3 separate regions of the Homo sapiens genome follow, and regions 1 and 3 are each linked to region 2. The links are contacts of gene promoters, found by promoter capture Hi-C in blood cells and fetal thymus (Javierre and others, 2016). All regions are on one chromosome and are shown on one strand. The core of a region is centred on a gene start or on the middle of the fragment in contact, and the rest is flanking DNA. Distances in the headings are between cores, read along the strand shown. Region 1 holds the start of SLC35B4 (solute carrier family 35 member B4). Region 2 holds the start of SND1 (staphylococcal nuclease and tudor domain containing 1). Region 3 holds the start of AKR1B1 (aldo-keto reductase family 1 member B).

Region 1 (2,700 bases), core at 121-2,620, 6.7 Mb before region 2:
TTTTAAGGCAGCAGTTCTCAAATTCTAGAATGCATTAGAATTAGAACGTGGAGTGCTTGTTAAAAATACAAGTTTCTAGAACCCATACACAAGGATTTTGACTTGGTAGGTCTAAAGCGAGACCCAATAATCTGCACTCGATAACGAGTACTTCAGATGATTCCAATGTGATCTCCCAGTCACGGACTGGGAAAAAAGCATTCCAAACTATTTTGTAGATCTCGAGAAAGACTTCAGAATGTTCGTGTCTCACAGGAAATAGCAAAAACAATATAGCATTCCAAAATCCTACCTAGCTTTGTACCGTGTACTTTGCTATTGCTGTTGGATTCAATTACAACGGAAATATTTGATGTGGTAAAATACTGAGCAGTGATGCTAACCTTTTATAGTAGACACTGGGAAGCAGAAAGGAAGTGTAAACACGTTTCCCTTAAAAACTAGTCTTGCTGGGTGGATAAAGTGTGCATACCTATTTTACAAATAAAGAATAGTGCCGCACTAGCTTATGTACGTAATATGTGCTTAACAAACATTTGTTCATTGAGTAAGTAAGAGTCAAGTCGAATGGCTCAGATTGTAAGTGCTATGAGAATTCCACTGTAAGAAGAGGGAAGTATGCCTTCTTTTCACCATTAAAGATCTGATTGCTGATATTGGCATTTTTGCCAGTAGAAGAGCCTGGACGTTGGCAGTTTTCAAAGCCCCCAGGTGATTTGACTGCGCAGCTAAGTTTGAGAACCACGGAGGTAAAGGAAGGGAGTACCTTAAAGAGCTAGGATTAGGGATAATATCAATAGATCACCTTTAAGGCTGCACCTCAGCCTAATTAAATCAGAATCGCTGGGGGTGGGACTTGGCTATCAGTCATCTTTAAAGCTCTCCAAGTGATTCCAATGTACAGACGTGGTTGAGAGCCATTGCTTTACTTGAATTCTCAGTGGTTCTTAATCCTGGCAGCATAATAGAGTCACCAAAGATACATATATATATATCAGTTCAGGAAGCAGAGTTGTTTCAGATGCTAGAACACCTCCAACGAGCAGTCACAGCTCTGTAGTTCTAGTGCCGCCGCTGCCAGCAAGTTTGTTGTGACCCTGGCGGCCGAGTTACTTTCAGCGCTCTGGGCGGTCTCGCAAGAAACACTGACGCTTTGGGACTTCATTTCCCAGCAAGACCCGCGGCCGCCTATCGCGCGAGTCATGCCGGGCACCTCGTCCCCCTGTCCTCTCTGGCGGAGCTGCCTGGCGGAAGCGGGAACGTCGCATCCTGAGGTAAAGGTGCACGGCATCCTGGGACATGTAGTCTGGCCGGGGCTCGGACGCCCCCTCGGATGAATGGGACCGAAGCTGACTGCGAACTACAGCTTCTTGGCAGCGTCGGTGTTGGCCGCGGGAGAAGGGGAGACCGCGGCGGCCCCCAGTGAGAGCGGCTTTCCAGGACGGTGCGATGTGCTGCGCAGCGAAGAGGCAGGAGGCCGGCTTCCTGGGGTAGCGGTACAGGCGGGCGCTTACTCTGTGCGCTTGCTTCCCCAACCCTGCACCGGCCATGCGCCCGGCCTTGGCGGTGGGCCTGGTGTTCGCAGGCTGCTGCAGTAACGTGATCTTCCTAGAGCTCCTGGCCCGGTGAGTGACCCGCTCGGGCCGCACCCGGTCTCCCGGGGCGGGGCGGAGGAAGCCAGAGGAGAGGTCCCCCCGGGACGCGCCCACGCCCTGTCCCCACCCCGCCGCCCACGGAGCCCGGGGCAGGACGGCCTGAGCCCCCCAGCAATCCGTCCTGTCTGGGCAGCCTGGGACCCCGCTGAGTCCGCTGCTTCCCAAAACTGCGCACCGGCGGCAGTCCCGCCTAACAGTTTCAAAGCATTCCTGCGAGGGGAAGACTCAGGGTGTTGCTGTCGTCACCCCTTTTCCACACTCGGGGGGTATTGAAGTCTGAAGAGTTTTTCACATGACCAGTCCAAGGTCGGCAGAGAGCTAGTGTCAGAACCAAGGTTCCTTCACCAAACCACTCTCTCTTCCTTCCCATCCAACTCTAGCTCTTTTTTCGATCCTGTTAAATGGCACAGGCTGGACTTGAGCAAAGGTTTTTGACTTGTAAAGCAGTCTGACTTTGTACATACTGCAAAGAAAGTTTTATTTTTATTACGGCATCCTGCAAAGCATTTGCTTTATTGGCCTTGGAAATGGTTATGAGTACTTTGCCCAAACATACATAAATGATGCGGTAGAACAGATTTTTATGTAGAAGATCAGTCCACGTGACCCGAGAGTGCTCTTTGAGGTGGCTTGCAAAAAGACAAAAAAAAAAGCAAGTAGAAGATTGGTCCAAGTGACCTGAGAGGGCTCTTTGAGGTCACTTTGAATGTGCAAAGTTCAGTGGATAGAAGCTATAACAGAAGAGACAACAGGTGGTGTGGAAAAGCCTCCAGGACTAAAAAGCTGGGTTGTGAATTTCACTCTTGGCTCCGTCGTCCACTGGCTGTGTAGCCCTTCAAGTCACTTAGCCTCTCTTGGGCTCCTTTTCCTGGCAGTAAAACAATACCTATAGTGTTCTCTAGCTCGTGTTTCTGAATCTATACATTACAAGTTGAGTATCCTTCATTTGAAATGCTTGGGAACGGGTGTTATTTGGTGTTTTTTGTTTTTTGTTTTTTTTTTGGATTTGGGAGTATTTGCATATACATAATGAGATATTTTACGG
Region 2 (2,700 bases), core at 30-2,529:
GAAAGTATCACAAAAGATATTTGCTGTTGCAGATACAAATGTCAGAACTGCAGTATGAAACGACATCTAGAAGTTTACAGTCATCATAAACCAGAAAATTGGTAAAACCAAGAAATGTCAGGTTCCAAGATTTGGAAGGGTTTTGGGGAGGACAACTGGGGGCAAGTGATAAACTGAATTTATATTATCAAATTATCATGGAGCTAGGAGTAAATTGTAAAAATAAACTTTGCAGGTTCAAATTCAAAATTGAAGAATTTTCAAAAAGTTGAGGGTATATAAAATCAGGCAGAATCTATAGTGCTATGAGCACTAGACCAGGAATCCGAACACTTGGGCTCTTGCTATGGCTCCAACCCAAACCACCATGTGACCTTAAGCAAGTCACTTGCCTTCTTCAAGCCTATCTCCTTATCTTTAAGGGACGGGAGAACAATGATGATTACTAAGATTCTTGCCGGCCTAACCTTTTAGAAGTCAAAAGTACACAAAGATCAGGAGCTTTCAGGTCGACACAAGAGGTGGAGGGAAAGAGAGGAAAAGAGGGCCACAGAGTGAGAAAACTTGGGAGTCAAGTAACAGCGTTTGTGGGAACAGAAAAGTTTCATGATGGCCAAGTACTAGTAGAGAAGAGCCGATGTCAGGATCTCGAAAAACTACTAACTACTCAGCATATGTCAAAATGAACAGAAAGACGGGGGATGGGAGGACAGATATCAACGAATTGTCTCTGTTAATCAATCAGTAATCGATCTGTCCTGGTAAACAGACAGGAGATCCGAATGCCGCAACCTCGGAAATCACTGTGACCCCTGATGTCAAGGTGTCCGGGAGGCAAGGAACAAGGGGACTCCGTGTCTGCTTCCGTCTAGTGAGAGGATTCGGAGAATCGACGAAAAGTGAGGAAGGGGGCAGAGGAAAGGGGATCTGGGACATGGAGCAGGCTGGCGGAAGGTGGAGTCAATGCCTGACTCCCGCCCGAAGGCAGGCAGAGGGGTCGGTGTCCGGGGCCCGTTCTCACCATCTTGATGATGCCCCGCTGCACGGTGGGGACCGCGGGTCCCCCGGAGGAGCCGCCGCTCTGCGCGGAGGACGCCATGTGTGGAGATGCAAAGGCAACGAGTGGAGCGGCTGGCCGGACTGGAGGTGTCAATGTGGGTGTCGGTGTTGGTGAAAGGGAGTCGAGGCGAGGGGCAGGCTGGCTACCAGCTGCGGACGGTGGACGGGACGGACTCGCCGGGCGCTCACAGGAGCAGCAGCGGGACACGGAGCGAAAGAGACGCGATCTCCGCCGCCGCCACACGTTCTACTCGCCGCGCAAGCGTGCCAGAGCGCCACCGCCCTCCGCCCAATTAGCGCCCAGAGCCCGCCGGCCCTCAGGCCAATAGGCACCCTGCTCGCGGAGCCCCGCCTCTTGGTCCCCAAAACGGTGGTGAGTTCCAGGAAGCGCTGAAAGAGTTGATTTGCAAGGATGGGCTAAATATGGGGCGGGACTTCCGGGGCAGCCGGAGTAGGTAATGTCGGGAGGTGTAGTGGGAAGGAAAGGACACGTCAGCATCTGGCCGCGGGGCGCGGGGGGCCATGGGAGCCCCAGGGGCGGAGCCAGCCGCGCCCTCCCGCCTGACCTCGCCCATGACGTCCTTCCCCGCTGGCCTCAGGGGCGCACACTTGTATACCCACCTAGGTGGGCGCCGCTGTACCCGGGAATGCGGCCTGGGAGGGTGGAGCCACGCAGGCAGAGTCCTGGAGGAATCTCCGTACCCGCTCCACTCGACTTCCGACATTTTACCTTGGCTAAAAGTATGGAGAGAACTTGGAAAATCAGAGCTTTGTGGAACCTCCTACCGATGTGGGCTTTGACCTGCCACGCGGCCGCGCGCCCTTTTTGTAGTCAGAGAGTGTGCCTCGCCCTTGTTTGTGTCGCTGGGGTCTAGCACTTGTGAGGCGTTCCATTAATGTTTGTTGGTGGGAGGAATAAATGTCTCAGAGGAAGGACATGCCACGTATACAGGGGAGAGTGACCCTCGTTCTTCGGTCTCTTCCCAGCTGCTCCCGTGACGTTAGGGAAAAGGCTCGCTTCACGCTCTCACCCGACCCAGTGTGAAGCGCCTCCAGCCACCGGATACCTTCCCTAGCCCCAGTAAAAAGGTCGGGGAAGGAACGGGAAAGCCAAGGCCTACAAATATTTAAGTGACTGTTTAGCGAGAACTAATATTCGTTGAGTGCCCACTATGTGGAACCAAGGACCTTGCATGTGTTATGTCATTTAATCGTAAAACTTGGCTCTACACTGAAGACAGTACTTCCCTTGCAGTTCTTTTTGTTTCTTTGGTTTTGTGGCTTTTTTGAGACAAAGTCTCGCTCTGTCGCTCAGGCTGGAGTGCGGGGGCACGATCACGGCTCACTGCAGCCTTGACACTCCCAGGCTCAAGCGATCCTCCTGCCTCAGTCTCCGGTGTAGCTGGAGCTGGTACCACGGGTCCGCGCTACCACGCCCAGCTAATTTTTTTTTTGTAGAGCTGAGATTTCACTATGTTGCCCAGGCTGGTCTCCTGGGCTCAAGCTATACTCCTACCTCGGCCTCCTAAAGTGCTGGTATTACATGCATTAACCACAGTGCATGGCCCCTTGCTCTCTTAAAAGATTGTAAGTTTATTCTCCCACACTAAACATATCCCAGGGTTAAGTTTTGAGGTCACC
Region 3 (2,713 bases), core at 28-2,527, 6.8 Mb before region 2:
GGGACAAATGAATTTGCCCAATAGCAACAATTTTTACAAAAGTTACATGGAAAAATATCTGGGCTAGTCTGTTCTGTATAAATTTTTCCAGGAGGGAGCACTTTTAAAGAAAGCACCAAATGGAAAATCACCGGCATGGAGTTTAGAGAGACCTGGTGCTTGAGTCACTACCAGGCAGATGGAGTTCCCAATCTTGCATAATTAGGGGAAAGATCGGAGGGTGATGGAGCAGAAAGAGCAGTTGGGGTGAGGTAGAGTATCATGAAGAGAGGTTGTTGGAAAGAAACCAAAATTGTCTTCAAGGATCTTCAAGTGACTTTTCTTAGGCTATCTTGGAAAAATGTGTGTTTCTACCTGCCAATTAGGGTGATCAATTTACTATTTTGTACCTTCTAATTTGAAATACTGGAAGCTACAATATTAGAGTCAACTTTTTCTTCTGTGGTTTTCTGTCTGTTCACTTTTCTTCCTCTAGAGAGTTTTGATAAGTTACTGTACTGGAACTTACTGCTTTGATAGAGTCTCACTTTCCAAAGACTGATGAAATTTGTCTTACTGATTCTGAATGGACAGCCTTACTTTCCAAATTCTTCTGAGAGTTCTGGATCAAGCCCATCAAGGCTTTCTAACCTCAAGAACATCAAAGGATGCTGGCTTTTGGTGGAAGGCTTGCTGAACCACACCTAGTATGCACAGACACAGCTAACACCTAGAGTGGGGTGCAAAGAGAGATCTAGAAGGCTACAAAAAGTCTGGGCAAACCCATATTTTGTGAAGGTGCTTTGCAAAAGGATTGCAAGCCATTTTTCTGGCATGCACCTTTGTCTAAGAACAAAGTGCGGTAAACTATATGTGTAGTCAGTATGATTCACATAGATTAAGGACAAGGTATTCGTCAGATTCCCAAAGAGCATCAAACTGGGGTTGGACAACAAAGGCATTCTTCTGGGCTCTTAATGAAACCAAAACTTATTTCTAGTCTATGTATTTATGGGATGCCTGTTATTTTCGCTAAAGCATTCGCTTTCCCACCAGATACAGCAGCTGAGGAACTCCTTTCTGCCACGCGGGGCGCGGGCGAGCGTTGGGGGCGGAAAGAATCCGCTGCCACTAGGACCAGGCGGAAGAAGCATCCCCGCCGACCCTTGGGGAAGGCCGCCGCGGCACCCCCAGCGCAACCAATCAGAAGGCTCCTTCGCGCAGCGGCGCGCCAACCGCAGGCGCCCTTTCTGCCGACCTCACGGGCTATTTAAAGGTACGCGCCGCGGCCAAGGCCGCACCGTACTGGGCGGGGGTCTGGGGAGCGCAGCAGCCATGGCAAGCCGTCTCCTGCTCAACAACGGCGCCAAGATGCCCATCCTGGGGTTGGGTACCTGGAAGGTAGGTGCTCGTGGGGGCGCGGGCCCGGGGCTCGCCTCACACTCTCCGCGCGGCCTGTATTGGCGAGGGACCCCGAGTGACCCTGAGCAGCTCGCCCCGCGGACGCCCGGCGTGCTGGGAGCCACGCGCGGGCTTGCAGGGTCCCCAGCGGGCTGGGGTCGGCCTTGCAGAGACCGGGGGCCTTGGCTCCCCGGGTTGGCCCTGGGCGTCAGGGCAGCATCCTGCGAGTGGGGTTTGGGAGCAGCTCACGGGAGCCCCCGCCCTACCGCGGGCAACCCTTGATGGGCGGCCCACCAGTCCGCATTTTGGGTCCTAGCGGGCGCCCCAAGCGGCACAACGCGAGAGGGAGGCGGGGAAAGTGGGCTTCACAGACCGGTGGACCTCGGGCGCAGACAGGGACGTGGAGCCGTCGGCAAGGTGTGGGAGCGCAGACCCAGCCTCCTTTCCCTCGAGGCACCTGTAGCCCGGTTGCCTCACTTGTAAATAGTTGGTCTCAATCGTTTCGATTCTTGCCCTCCCTGAGGAATAAGCATCTCAAGCCGGTAGAGGGCAGAGAATTAGGTGGCGCGAGTTTGCCCGGACCCAGCTGTTAACAAGGCGCAGTGCGGAGCTCCTCGGCCAGGCGCCGCCTCGGGGTGCCCTGGGTCTGGAACTCGGGAGAAAAATCTGGGCACCCCGTAGCTAGTTGATAATTCAGGAGGCGCCAAGGTTAGCATTTTCCCTGTAAAACCTCAACACCACACAGCGTCCCCGAGAAGTGCCTAGCCGGATGAGAATGACAATAGGACATGAAACATCATAGGATATGAAAAATGATAATATGATATGAAAAACCAAAAATAATAGCCTGAGCCTGATTATCTGAAAATTGAGCAACAAAGGTGGTGGTATGGGAGCTGAGGCAAAACCTAGAATTTTTAACCTTCTAAGTATTGCATATTATATTCCACAGCCATAACCTGGGTTTCTCAGTTTCTGTTTTTGTTGTTTGCTTGTTTGTTTGTGACAGGGTCTCGTTGCCCAAGCTGGGGTGCAGTGGCACAATCATGGTTCATTGCAGCCTGGAACTCCTGGGCTCAAGTGATCCTCCTGCCTCAGCACTGCGGGTAGCTGGGACTACAGGCGCTCACCACCACACCTGGCTAATCTTTTTTCTTCCCCGCAGAGACAGTCTCCGCTTGTTGCTTAGGGTGATCTCCAATTCCTGGGCTCAAAGCGCTCCTCCCACCTCGCCTCCCAAAGCTACAGGTGTGAACCATCTGGCAGGCCCACGTCCCAGGTTTTTCTCTTAAAATTTGAATATGGGCCTGGGCGTTGGATATTTACACACAGA

Evidence for each region. The method cuts DNA at HindIII sites, captures the fragments that hold promoters and counts their contacts. A CHiCAGO score of 5 or more calls a contact.
Region 1: the fragment with the promoter of SLC35B4 here is called in contact with the fragment with the promoter of SND1 in region 2 in 1 of 17 cell types (non-activated CD4 T cells); the score reaches 6.7 in non-activated CD4 T cells.
Region 3: a contact is called between the fragment with the promoter of AKR1B1 here and the fragment with the promoter of SND1 in region 2, in 1 of 17 cell types (total B cells). The highest score is 8.0, in total B cells.

Annotation. Positions count from the first base shown.
Region 1 is chr7:134,315,600-134,318,299 of GRCh38, reverse strand. SLC35B4 (solute carrier family 35 member B4) reads left to right here and starts at 1,370. Exons shown (of 10, transcript NM_032826.5): 1 at 1,370-1,625. The coding sequence starts at 1,549. RefSeq lists an enhancer at 850-1,579 and a silencer at 1,660-1,829. The HindIII fragment of the contact is 10,331 bases long and covers 1-2,700 here.
Region 2 is chr7:127,650,773-127,653,472 of GRCh38, reverse strand. It overlaps SND1 (staphylococcal nuclease and tudor domain containing 1), which reads right to left and starts at 1,279. Exons shown (of 24, transcript NM_014390.4): 1 at 1,022-1,279. The coding sequence starts at 1,099. It overlaps SND1-DT (SND1 divergent transcript), which reads left to right and starts at 1,641. Exons shown (of 2, transcript NR_186577.1): 1 at 1,641-1,800. RefSeq lists enhancers at 1,061-1,240, 1,065-1,683 and a silencer at 1,481-1,730. The HindIII fragment of the contact is 9,151 bases long and covers 1-2,700 here.
Region 3 is chr7:134,457,664-134,460,376 of GRCh38, reverse strand. It overlaps AKR1B1 (aldo-keto reductase family 1 member B), which reads left to right and starts at 1,277. Exons shown (of 10, transcript NM_001628.4): 1 at 1,277-1,380. The coding sequence starts at 1,315. RefSeq lists a silencer at 1,478-1,667. The HindIII fragment of the contact is 6,251 bases long and covers 1-2,713 here.